Regions from separate parts of the Homo sapiens genome. Here region 2 is linked to region 1. Evidence: promoter capture Hi-C in 16 types of primary human blood cells and fetal thymus (Javierre and others, 2016). All regions are on one chromosome and are shown on one strand. Each heading gives the region's core, a stretch centred on a gene start or on the middle of the fragment in contact. The rest is flanking DNA. Distances are from core to core; before and after follow the strand shown. Region 1 holds the start of AAR2 (AAR2 splicing factor). Region 2 overlaps DLGAP4 (DLG associated protein 4).

Evidence for each region. The method cuts DNA at HindIII sites, captures the fragments that hold promoters and counts their contacts. A CHiCAGO score of 5 or more calls a contact.
Region 2: a fragment that was not itself captured here is called in contact with the fragment with the promoter of AAR2 in region 1 in 3 of 17 cell types (endothelial precursors, M1 macrophages and M0 macrophages); the score reaches 7.9 in endothelial precursors.

Annotation. Positions count from the first base shown.
Region 1 is chr20:36,234,038-36,240,141 of GRCh38, reverse strand. It overlaps AAR2 (AAR2 splicing factor), which reads right to left and starts at 3,664. Exons shown (of 4, transcript NM_001271874.2): 1 at 3,639-3,664; 2 at 1-321. The coding sequence starts at 273. It overlaps LOC105372602 (a long non-coding RNA gene), which reads left to right and starts at 3,676. Exons shown (of 3, transcript XR_936695.2): 1 at 3,676-3,784. The HindIII fragment of the contact is 9,166 bases long and covers 1-6,104 here.
Region 2 is chr20:36,446,194-36,452,358 of GRCh38, reverse strand. DLGAP4 (DLG associated protein 4) reads right to left here. Exons shown (of 13, transcript NM_001365621.2): 7 at 5,422-5,662. Among named protein-coding and RNA genes, the nearest start is that of MYL9, 92 kb to the left of the region's middle. The HindIII fragment of the contact is 2,722 bases long and covers 1,062-3,783 here.

The DNA of each region.
Region 1 (6,104 bases), core at 2,415-4,914:
CCAGCGCAGCACTGTCAGCCCCCGCTGGTGCAGGCTAAGGAAGAAACCCATACGAGGGCCTACTTCCTTCGGATTAGCCTTGTCCACAGAGCTGTAGTGGAGGAAGTGGATGCCTGGAGGGATCATCTTCACGCCCCGGAACTTGGGCCCGACCTCCCAGGAGTTATAGTCAATCCCAAACTCTGTTCCCTTGGGCATGTTCAGGATGACCACAGTGGCCCCTTCAAAGAAGAGGCGCTTGGCTAGCTCAGGATCCATCTGCACGGCAGCCATGGGGCCAGTGGTGGGTGACCAAAAGAACCCTTTTTCTTTGATGAACAGCTGAGAAAGAAAGAAACCAGAGTTAATCAGAACGTGGGGGAAAGATGCTTCATTTGCTAAGCATTCTGTATGTGCCAGATATTGAGTTAGACCCCTGACATAATTATTTCCCTTAATCCTCATGACAACCCTGCATTGAGTTTACAGATGAGAAAAACGAGGATTAAAGGAAAGGATTTTTGTGTTTTGGCTTAACATGCAAGGACACTCACTTCACAGCTATAAGATACCAGTGAAAGAAAAGTGACATGCTCATGGTCATACCAGGACCCAAATTAGAATCTGGATACCCTGCCTGCAGGCCAGTGTTCTGTCCACCGTCCATTCTTAATATCTTCTCAGATCTCTTTCTCACAACAGAGGGTGAGGGTGGAAAATGCCTGGACAGGTCACTCTAAACTATATGCCTACATCATTTAAAACTACAATTCTGCCAAAAAACTATCCCAAAAGATTTGGAAAGATTAAATCAAGTACATATCCAGTTTCCCATAAGCCTCAGGGAAGGCCCAGAAATGGACAGACGGTAGCAAGTGGAGGCTCAGCATCTAAAGTTTGTTCAGGGTCTAGAGAGCTTTCCTACCACAAATCTCCCCTCTTCTTTCACTCATAAAAAACCTAAACTCCAGGGAGTGAAACAACTTCCCAAAGAGCCCACAATCAGTGGTGGCTCTGGACCATTCATCCAGAATGAATTCAGGTGGTAAAGCTAGCCTAGGAAGAGAAAGCTGGCCAGAAGAGAAAGAGCTTAGTACACTTATTTTACCTACTTCTGAATATCCCAGACATTGCCTCTGGGATATCGGCAAGAATGGTACCAACATGAACAAATGTAAACAAACCATTATGCAACCTTCTAGTCCTAAGATACCTACCTGACTAATTTAACAAATACTCACTGAGTGCCTGCATTGTGCCAGGATCTTTGCCAGGCCCCCAAAAAACATCACAGATTAAGACAGTCACTGCCCTCTAGGCAATTCCAATCTAGCCAAGACGTCAAAATTTCACACACAGAAAAACGAGCTGCCTGTTTAATTGTTTACTTTTTTTTTTTTTTTTTTTGAGACAGGGTCTCGCTCTGTCACCCCAGCTGGAGTGCAGTGGCGTGATCTCGGCTCACTACATCGTCCACCTCCCGGGTTCAAGCAATTCTTGTGCCTCAGCCTCCCAAGCAGCTGAGACTACCGGTGTGTGCCACCACACCTGGCTAAGTTTTGTATTTTTAGTACAGAGAGGGTCTCACCATGTGGCCTAGGCTAGTCTGGAACTCCTGACCTCAGTGATCTGCCCGCCTCGGCCTCCCAAAGTGCTGAGATAACAGGTGTGAGCCACCATGCCTGGCCCTGTTTACCCTTTTTACTTTAAATAAAGCAGTGCAGAAAGGAAGACCAATCCTTTTCCAAAAATAAGAGCACATTTTATCATTGTTACCTCAAAACCACCACAAATGACTCTTACCCTGAATCAGCACTTTGTGTTTCACCAAACTGCAAGTCACAATCCATTAGTGGATTAGGAAATCAATGTGAAGGTCTCAACCAGCATTATTTTTTAAACGAAAATAACAGAATTTTTGAAATATCACAATACATCATGAGTAGTAAAGCTAAGTACTGTTTTCTGGAGCTTTGTGTGTTTGTGTGTATACTTGGTTGTGCCATAAAATGTATTCGTTACTGTAGGTCACAGTCATAAAAGTTTGAAAGACTCTGCTCTAAATAATTCGTATCAACAGGCCGGGCGTGGTGGCTCACGCCTGTAATCACAGCACTTTGGGAGGCCGAGGCGGATGGATAATGAGGTCAGGAGTTTGAGACCAGCCTGGCCAATACTGTGAAACCCCATCTCTACTAAAAATACAAAAAAAATTAGCCGCGCATGGTGGTGTGCGCCAGTAGTCCCAGCTACTTGAGAAGCTGAGGCAGAAGAATTGCTTGAACCTGGGAGGCAGAGGTTGCAGTGAGCTGAGATCACACCACTGCACTCCAGCCTGGGGGTCTGAGCGAATTCCGTCTCAAAATAATAATAATAATAATAATAATAATAATAATAATAATAATAATAATACGTATCATCTTCCTATTTGTAATCCTGAATTCAGAAAGTATTTAATATTTGCTGAATGAACAGATATTCCATTTACAATAACAGCTCATCAATTAGCCATTTTCCCTTGTGACATCTGTGTGCTCCTCCTTGATAATGACGTTTCTTTCATGCTAATTCCACCAGTCTGTAATTCTATTCACTATATCTCCAGCAGCTGGCACAGGGCCTAGCACAGAGGAGATGCTAGGAAAACGTTTATTAAATATGCATAGAACTCTGCAGTCTACCAGCCCCTGTCACTGACAGCTCTGTGAGTTCCTCACAGTCCTGGAACACCTAAAGTCACATCCATCCACTTCTCTCCACCACCTCCCTAATCCAAGCTACCATCGTCCCTCACTCAGAGTGCTTGCTCCTCAACCCATTCTCCATTCAACAGCAGTAACCTTTTCAAAATGCCAATCTAATCACAACACCACCCATGTCAGCTTCTGAGTGGTTTCCCATATGGTTCTTGAAAAACCAGAATTCTTCCTATTACCTACAAAGCCTGCACGGTCTGACTCCTGGCAACCCCTTTAGCTTGTGTCACACAATGGTCCCCCACAAGCTCTCTGTTCCAGCCACAACGGCCTCTTTCAGAACCTGAAATTGGAGGCTGTCTCCATATAGAAAACTCTTCCCTCCCCACTTTGTCAAATCCTTTTTTCTGATCTCAGCTCAATATTCACCTCCTCAGTAAAGGTTCCTTGCCCTGGGGCTAGGTCAGGTCTCCTGTGATATAATCTGGGGTGCCTTGTACCTTTCCGTCTCAATGATCACAACTGCAGTTTTGGATGTTTGATTGAAGGCTGTCATCGCCACGAGACTTGAGTCCTGCTGTATCCCTAGCACAGATTCAACGCTTAGTAAACATTTATTTAATACAAGTATGATATCCATTTTGTAAACGAGAAACAAAGCCTCAGTTCGGGGAAAGACCTTACTGGAAGTCACGCAGAGAGTAGGGCAGAGCCAGGTCGAGTGCAATCAGGGTCTCCGGCCCCCAGGCTCTAAAGTTAAGAAAACCGCGACGTAACTCTGGCGACGGCTTCTCAGGAAGGGCCTCCAGAGACACCAGCGTCCCACAAACAGAGAACCAGCCGCCCCGGCGAGGTGGGCCTAGTTCAAGGCACTCCGTGACTCTGAGCCGAGAAGAGGGGCGGCCCAGCCACACATACACAAGGAATCAGGAAAGGAAAAAGAGGCCAGGAGGCCACACTCACCGCCTCGCCCCACGTTCCGGTACAGCGGAAACGCACCGGAAGTTCTCCAGCTTTGGCGTCTGACTGGAGCGACGGGGGAAGCGGTCCGGCAGAGCCCTGGGTCGCGGGAAGAATGGCCCGTGCCTGCAGGTTCCGCCGGATGCAAGGTTGCCTTTTGTTATTCTTAGTTTCTCGTTTTAGCTTCTGAATTGTGAACAACTTTCATTAACCTATGCATTTTATATCCCCGTCCAGAAACACAGCCACCAGCCATCTTACTTTGGGCTCAAGCAGTCATGGTCACTAAAGCACAGCCAAGGCTTGTACCAGTGGCTACTATTCAGAAGTAGCCAGTCAGGCGCTCGGTCACTGTCTTTGTCAGCCAGTCTCTATCCCGGTCACAGTGTCTCAGCTTCCAGTCACACTCAGCCCTCGGGGAGAGCCTCAGAAACCCAGCCACCAGCCCAGAGAGAACCAGCGTCAGCCTCCGCTGCTGCAGCAGCAGCGGTCGCCACCTCAGTCCCTCTGGCCATTATCACCCCGTGTCCTTCCTGCAGGCCAAGTCCTAACATCTCAGTCAGGCTATCAACGCACTAGGGAAGGAATCTGCCTGTCTTGTTCCTCACTGTTTCCCTGGAACCGAGCACAAAGCCAGGCACAAAAGCTCAGCTGAGTACATATATTATGCATTTAATTAATAATGATGATAATTTGGTATTAATAAATAACTATTTGTGGGTCTAACCCTGCACTATTAATCAGGGTTCCACCAAAGATACAGAGCCAGTAGGAGATCTATATTAAGTGATTTATTGCCAAGAATTGGCTTATGTGATTTTAGGGCAGGCCACTTGGGTATTTCTTTTTTTGAGACGCAATCTCACTCTGTCACCCAGGCTGGAGTGCAATGGCGCTATCTCGGCTCACTGCAACCTCCACCTCCTGGGTTCAAGCCATTCTCCTGCCTCAGCCTCCCAAGTAGCTGGGATTACAGGCGCCCACCACCGTGCCTGGCTAATTTTTGTATTTTTAGTAGAGACGGGGTTTCATCTTGTTGGCCAGGCTGGTTTCGAACTCCTGACCTCAGGTGATCTGCCCACCTTGGCCTCTCAAAGTGCTGGGATTACAGGCATGAGCCACCGTGCCCGGCCCACTTGGGTATTTATAATCCTTGCACTAACCCTTGTAAGGTATGTGTATTCCCAATTTGCAGAAGAGAAAACTGAGGTTCAAAGAGATGTTACACAGCCAGAGAATGGCAGAGCTAGAATGCAAACCAAGGGCTGTCTGTTCTTATCTCTTGTGCTGCTGCTCCTTAGCTTGTCTGTCACATTTCCTCAGTGACAGCTGGACACGCCAATCTGTCTCGGTCAAAATTTATCTCTTAGTGGGTTGCAGACTAGACCGGGCCCTGCAGTCATGGTTAATCACAATGAGCTGCTGCAGGATTAACCAGAGACAGCCTCCATCAGTCACAGTCATGCTTACCAATCTCAGCCTGTCCTGTCAAGTTTCATCTCCTGCATGAAGAAGCTCAGCTCCCTCTCCACCCCTCCCCACTCCCAGTCTTAAGTGCTGAGCTCTATGGTCTGGTCTCAAAGCTCCCTGTTTCAGTTGGGCTCACCGTCTTTTCAGAGACTCCAGGACACTGAACACTGGTTGTAGAAGCTGTAAATGGTGGCCTAGGAGTCCCACCTTGTGGGTCACATGTCCATTTAGATCAGAATTTCTCAACCTTGGCACTATTGACATTTGGGGCCAGATAAGTATTTGTTGTATGTGGCTGTCCTGTGCATTGTAGGATGTTTAGCAGCAACCCTGGCGTCTACCCACTAGAGCTAGTAGCACCCCTCAGTTGTGACAACCATTGCTAAATGTCCCCGGGGCGGGGGTTGGGGGTAAAGGAGGAGGGGTCATTTCCCCACTCTCAATGCAGTTGAAAAACACTAATCTGGGTGAACTTACCTTTGATTATTCGACAAAAGCCGAGTCAGGATGGTCCTTTATGGGAGACAGAAATATGGATCAGGGTGTATGGGGTCCTGAGGAATCATATGAAGACCCATTGTTTGTAAACCAAGTCCTATTCCAGAACCCTAGGGATAACAGATTGCTAAAGGAGACCTATAGGGAAAATTCAGAGAAGGATTCATAATGTTCCTCGCAGCAATTGCCTCTGACAAGAGACAGAAATCTGGAGAAGGCTGAAGAATCACTTTTCACTGCATAGTCTTTGTATCATTTAATGAATTACCTTTCCAAAGAAAATAAGTATTTAGTATTTGAAAGTATACGGAAATGCTCAGGATATATATACGTGTATATAGATATATATGTACATATATATACATATATGTACATATATATATTTTAAAGTATTTACAAAAGTATGTACAAGATGACCAACTCTGGAAAAATACATACACATGGAAAAGACTCGCTGGTGAGATTTGCAGCAATAAAGGTGGGCTGAGGTGAGTTGCTTGG
Region 2 (6,165 bases), core at 1,173-3,672, 210 kb before region 1:
AGAAATTTAAAAATTAGCCAGGCATGGTACTGCATGACTCTGGTCTCAGCTACTCGGGAGGCTGAGGCAGGAGGATCGCTTGAGCCTGGGAGGTTGAGGCTATGGTGAGCTATGACCATGCCACTGCACCCATGCCTGGGTGACACATGGAGATCCTGTCTAAAAAAGTAAAAAATAGCCGATCTTCAAGGAGCGTTTAGAGGAAAGGGAAGGAGACCAGAACTTGTTTAGTTGGAAAATAAATTTGTCAACTCCAGCCCCTCCAGAGAGTAAACCATTCTCAAATTAAGATACAGCCTCGTTAGGCATGGTGGCTCATGCCTGTAATTCCAGCACTTTGGGAGGCCAAGGCAGGCAGATCACCTGAGGTCAGGAGTTTGAGACCAACCTGACCTACAGGGAGAAACCCTGTCTCTACTAAAAATACAAAACTAGCTGGGCATGGTGGTGCATACCTGTAATCCCAGCTACTTGGGAGGCTGAGGCAGGAGAATCACTTGAATCCAGGAGGCGGAGGTTGAGATGAACTGAGATCACGCCATTGCACTCCAGCCTGGGCAACAAGAGCGAAACTCAAAAAAAAAAAAAAAAATACAGCCTCAGGGCAAAGATGAAACCAAGGTCATGGCCAGTTAAGATGCCGTATGTGGACAGGATCAAATCAAAGTGTGGTTATAATATCTCTTATTAACACTCTAAAAATAGTAGAGCCAGGCGTGGTGGCTCACACCTGTAATCCCAGCACTTTGTGAGGCCGAGGCGGGTGGATCACTTGAGGTCAGGAGTTCGACACTAGCCTGGCCAACATGGTGAAACCTTGTCTCTACTAAAAATACAAAAATTAGCCAGGCATGGTGGCACACGCCTGTATTCCCAGCTACTTGGGAGGCTGAGGCATGAGAATCGCTTGAACCTGGGAGGTAGATGTTGCAGTGAGCTGAGATCGCGCCACTGCACTCCAGCCTGGGCGACAGAGAGCGAGACTCTGTCTCAATCAATCAATCAATCAAGATACCAGGTAGCAGATGCTACTATCTGGTCAAAAGGGCCTACAGAAAGCTTAAGGGCATGGTCCCACAGAAGCCCAAAGTAGGCATCAAGTCAAGAGAGAGGCATGACTCAAAAACAATTATGGGTATGGCTTTTGGCACTCGAAGTTACAGGGAATCAAATACATAGAAAACTCATCAAATGTTTGAGGTAGGTGCATGGGTAAAATTGACCAGCTTAGGCTAAAGGGAGTAAGACCGTTCAAGATGCAAAAGACATCTAGCTCCCTAACTTTCTTTAGGAAGGAAGCAAGCTAAGAAAGGTGTTCCGTTCCCCAAGGCTATATTCTCCAAGTTCTCTTTAAAAGTGGCCAAAAATGCTGATGGAGAAGGAAGGGCTTTCAGAGAGCAGAACCAAGAGCTGTGGAGAACAGTAGACTAGAAGATCAACCCCAGGGAGAACTTGTACCTAATCAACAAATCTCAACGCATTTGCCCAACAGTTGCTCAGAAGGACTTCAGAATTGCCATGGATCAATAAGTCTCTGCATCTCTACTTTCCCCTTTTCTGAACAGGAGTATTAACTGCAGTTCTCCTGTCCCTGTTTCACCAGTGTATGCTGTGTGGTTGGGGAGGGTTAGACTGTAGGGTAGATAAGTAGTTTCTTTAAAAAATTAAAAGTCAATTGTTCGACAGAAGCCACATCCAGACCTGACATAGATCATAAGAGTCTGATCCAATCTCATGATTGGATGAGACTTTTGGGGGTCTTGGGAATAAAAGTTTTCTACCTGGGAAGGGCATGAGTAAATACAGCCAAGACAGTGGATCATGGAACATAGAATTGTTGACCCTGATTCTTTTTTTTTTGAGACGGAGTCTCACTTTTGTTGCCCAGGCTGGAGTGCAATAGTGTGATGTTGGCTCACTGCAACCTCCACCTCCCGGGCTTAAGCGATTCTCCTGCCTCAGCCTCCTGAGTAGCTGGAATTACAGGTGGGCACCACCACGCCTGGCTAATTTTTGTATTTTTAGTAGAGACAGGGTTTCGCCATGTTGGCCAGGCTGGTCTCAAACTCCTGGCCTCAAGTGATCCACCTGCCTCGGCCTCCCAAAGTGCTGGGATTACAGGCATGAGCCACTGCGCCCACCCAGACCCTGATTCTTTACCTCTCCCTGTGGCCACACCCTTTGCCATATGAATATAGTTTCCTACACAAAGGTGAGAAGATACTTCTCCATCCCTTGTCTATGAGCTCAGTCATATGACTTGTGTTGCCAATAGGATGTTAGCAGGTATGACATGAGCAGAGGCCTTGAAATGTGCTTGTTTGGTTAGTTAGGCTTGCTCTTCTGTCTTCTGCCATCACCATAAGGAGAACATGCCCTGGCTAGACCACTGATCCCAGGAGGACTCTTTGGTCCCAGGAGGAGGATGAAAGACATGTGGAGCAGAACTGTCCCAACTGACAAACTTGGGAGCAAGAAATAAATGTGAATTGTTGTATTACACTGATTTTGTGGTTGTTTGTTATGCAGCATAATTGTAGCAAGAGCTGACCAATACAGGGACCCAGGCAGTATTGGGACATGTAGCCCATCCCCTATCTTTAGTCCATTCATGAGTGACTGGGGTTGGAAAAACTGGTGAGGGATGGTTTATTTGAAGAGAATTGCTAGGGGTGCTGTCTATCCCTCCAGGCCCACTTCATGCTTAGAGAACTTCGCATGGGTGTGAGGATGTGGGGGATGTTATCCTTCACCCACGGCCCCTTTGGAACTGTAGCAGAGTGCCTGGGACAGCCTGGGAGAGCTCTTCTGGATGTGGAGGCCACAGAACCTGGGCCTCAGCTCTTGTTTGGAGACCTTGAAGGTGGAGAGGCTGGCAGGGCTACCGGTAACAGCAGGACTAGAAGGAAGGCTGTAGCGGGCCAGTCTGTATTTTCGGAGGCTGTAGCAGACCAGTCTATATTTTCAGAGTCCCAGAAGGCAAAGGCCCTTGTTTTCAAATACATTAAGTGGTCACCAAGAGGGAAAATAGGGCTGGAGTTGTCTTCAGAGGATTCTACCCAAGATGCCTGACTAGCAGGGCCAGGTGCCCTAGCAGAAAGAAGCTGAGTGGCGAGGAGGCAGACTGCCAGATGGAGAAGCTGAGGGGGAATAAGAAACAGTGAGGTGAATGAAGATTGCCCATGCTGGGAAAGATGGCACTGGGGACCCTGCAGGGTGCGAGAAAGAGCCAGTATGTGGCATCAGAGAGTCCCGATGCCAGACGACACCTCCCTGGCTACCATCCCTTCCCAAGTGGAGGAACCAGAAACAGAGGTGAACAAGGAACAGAGAAGACATTTATTTACATCAAACACCGGTTGAGCACTTGAAGCAGTGCCTCTCTTCCTACAACAATCCAACCCCAATTGCTTTTTTTTTTCTTTGAGACAAGGTCTTGCTCTGTCACCCAGGCTGGAGCGCAGTGGCTCAATCTTGGCTCATTGCAACCTCTACCTCCCGGGTTCAAGCAATTCTCATACCTCAGCCTCCCAAGTAGCTAGAACTACAGGTGTGCACCACCACACCCGGGTAATTTTTGTATGTTTAGTACAGATGGGGTTTCACCATGTTGGCCAGGCTGGTCTCGAACTCCTGACCTCAAGTGATCTGCCCACCTTGGCTTCACAAAGTGCTGGGATTACAGGCATGAGCCACCATGCCCAGCCCCCAATTGTTTTTGATTTTCAGGAAGCTCAGAGTCAGGTCTGAGAACCAACAATAACAGCTACCACTTACCAAGCTTCTACCACAAGAAAGTCCCTGCCTAAACATGTCCTATGCACAGTCTTGTTTCATCTCCCTAAGAGATCCCTGGAGTCTGGCTTATGCCCTCAATTTATACATGGAGAAACTGAGGCTCAGGAAGGCGAACTAGCTTGCCAGAGTAAGCTCAAACCTCTCTCTACTATTGATAAACAATAAATTGTGCTGTTTTTCCTTGGTTTTGATTTTCTATTATTATTATTTTGAGACAAGGTCTTGGTCTGTCTCCTAGGCTGAAGTGCAGTGGTGTGAACACAGCTCACTTCACCTTTCATCTCCTGGGCTCAGATGTCCCTCCTGCTTCAGCCTCCTGAGTAGCGAGGACCACAGGTATATGCCAACCCGACCAGCGAATTTTTAATTTTTTTAGAGTCCGGGTTTCATCATGTTGCCCAGGCTGGTCTCCAACTCCTAGGCTCAAGTGATCTGCCTCGGCCCCCCAAAGTGTTGGGATTATAGGCGTGAGCCACTGCACCCAGCTAATTTTCTATTACGTCTTTTTTTTTTTTTTTGACCATCTTAATAATACTTAATAAGGTATACATGCGCCACGGTGGTTTGCTGCACTTATCAACCCATCATCTAGGTTTTAAACCCCACATGCATTAGATATTTGTCCTAATGCTCTCCCTCCCCTTGTCTCCCCCCCCCCCACCCCCCTGATAGGCCCTGGTGTGTGATGTTCCCCTCCCTGTGTCCTCATTGTTTACCTCCCACTTATGAGTGAGAACATGCAATTTTCTATTATTTCATGGCTTGCTCAGTTATACAGGGTCCCCTTTTTTCTCTGATCACATATGGGTTATCTTCAGATGATTTAGAACAAGAATCCAGGGCTGGGCATGGTAGCTCACGCCTATAATCCCAGCACTTTGGGAGGCCACGATGAGCAGATCCCTTGAGGTCAGAAGTTCACGACCAGCCTGGCCAACATGGTGAAATCCCATCTCTACTAAAAATACAAAAATTAGCCAGGCATGGTGGCATGTGTCTGTAATTCCAGCTACTTGGGAGGCTGAAGAATGAGAATTGCTTGAACCTGGGAGGCAGAGGTTGCAGTTAGCCAAGATCATGCCACTGCAGTCCAGCCTGGGTGTGGAGTGAGACTCTGTCTCAACAACAACAAAACACCCAAGAATCCAGAAGGTATTCCCTGATTGTGTATATGAGAGAAGCCTGTAAAACACATCCCTTTGAGAAGGCTCAGTGCAGACCCCACCCTCACTGCAGGCTTCTCTGCAGGTTCCAACCTGCCCTACAGGTTTGCCTACCTGAACTAATTCCAAGAGGCAGGTCAAGCTGCAGTAAGCCCTGACTATAGCAGGTGGCTGCTCTGAGCCAAGGAGCAACCAAGTACCCTACAAGCTCCAGCCCCTCCAATACCTCCCATGCCCCCCAGGGGTGGCATCTGCCTCTGGGACCCCCATTTGAGCTCCAGTGGCCAATTGGCTGGAAGTTCAGCTCCAAGGCCTCCTGCTTTTGCTCCCAACCATCCCCCTGGTGCGGGCCAGCCTGAGACAGATTCCTCCCTGTATCCTCCCAGGCTGGCCCTCCAGGTATGGTCCTTGGGGTCCCCTTGAAAAGAAAAAAAACCCCTTCCCTCATCACAGTACTCACTCGGAAGCGTGCGACTATTGCTGAGGCTGCCGGTACTGGGCGGTGGGGAGAGGGACTGCAGGGAGACACTGTCCTCCTCCTGCGAGCAGCCTGCCTGGATGGCACGCAGGTAGCTGTGGCTGCGGGAGCGGAAGTAGCTGGGCAGTGGCAAGTCAAGCGTCTCTGCCGCTGTGGACTCCGCTTCACTGCAGGCTGACTCGCAGGCCGCCTCATACTGGTCACTCAGCTCTGCCTCCCGTACCTGTCCAGGCAAAGGCAGGCATGAGGGAGCTGGCTATCTTGCCCATCCTGGGGGGAGCGGTTCTTGGTGGTGGGCTCAGGGCAGGGCTGGACAGTCTGTGGGGTCTGACCTCAGCCCACCCCTGTCCATCTCACTCAGCGTATGGGATGGGGAGATGGAGCCCTTAAGAAAGAAACAGTCCTACCTCTCTGGGCCTCAATTTTCCCATCTCTATAATGAGGACAAAGTTGGAATATCTCAGGATATTAACTGTGATAAAAATCAGGGTCCACACTGATTAATAGATTTCAAGGTCACATCTGAATTTAGTGTGAAAGAGGTCTATAATCAATTAGCAATGTCTGTCCTGAATGTTGGAATGGGGGTGGCGGTAGGTAGCTGGATATTTACCATCCTATGGTCCAATCCCTTTATTTTACAAGGAAAGAAACCAAGGGTCAGTGAGGGGAAGACACTTGCCATGGGTACCCAGTGAGGAAGTGGCAGAACCAACACTCCAAATA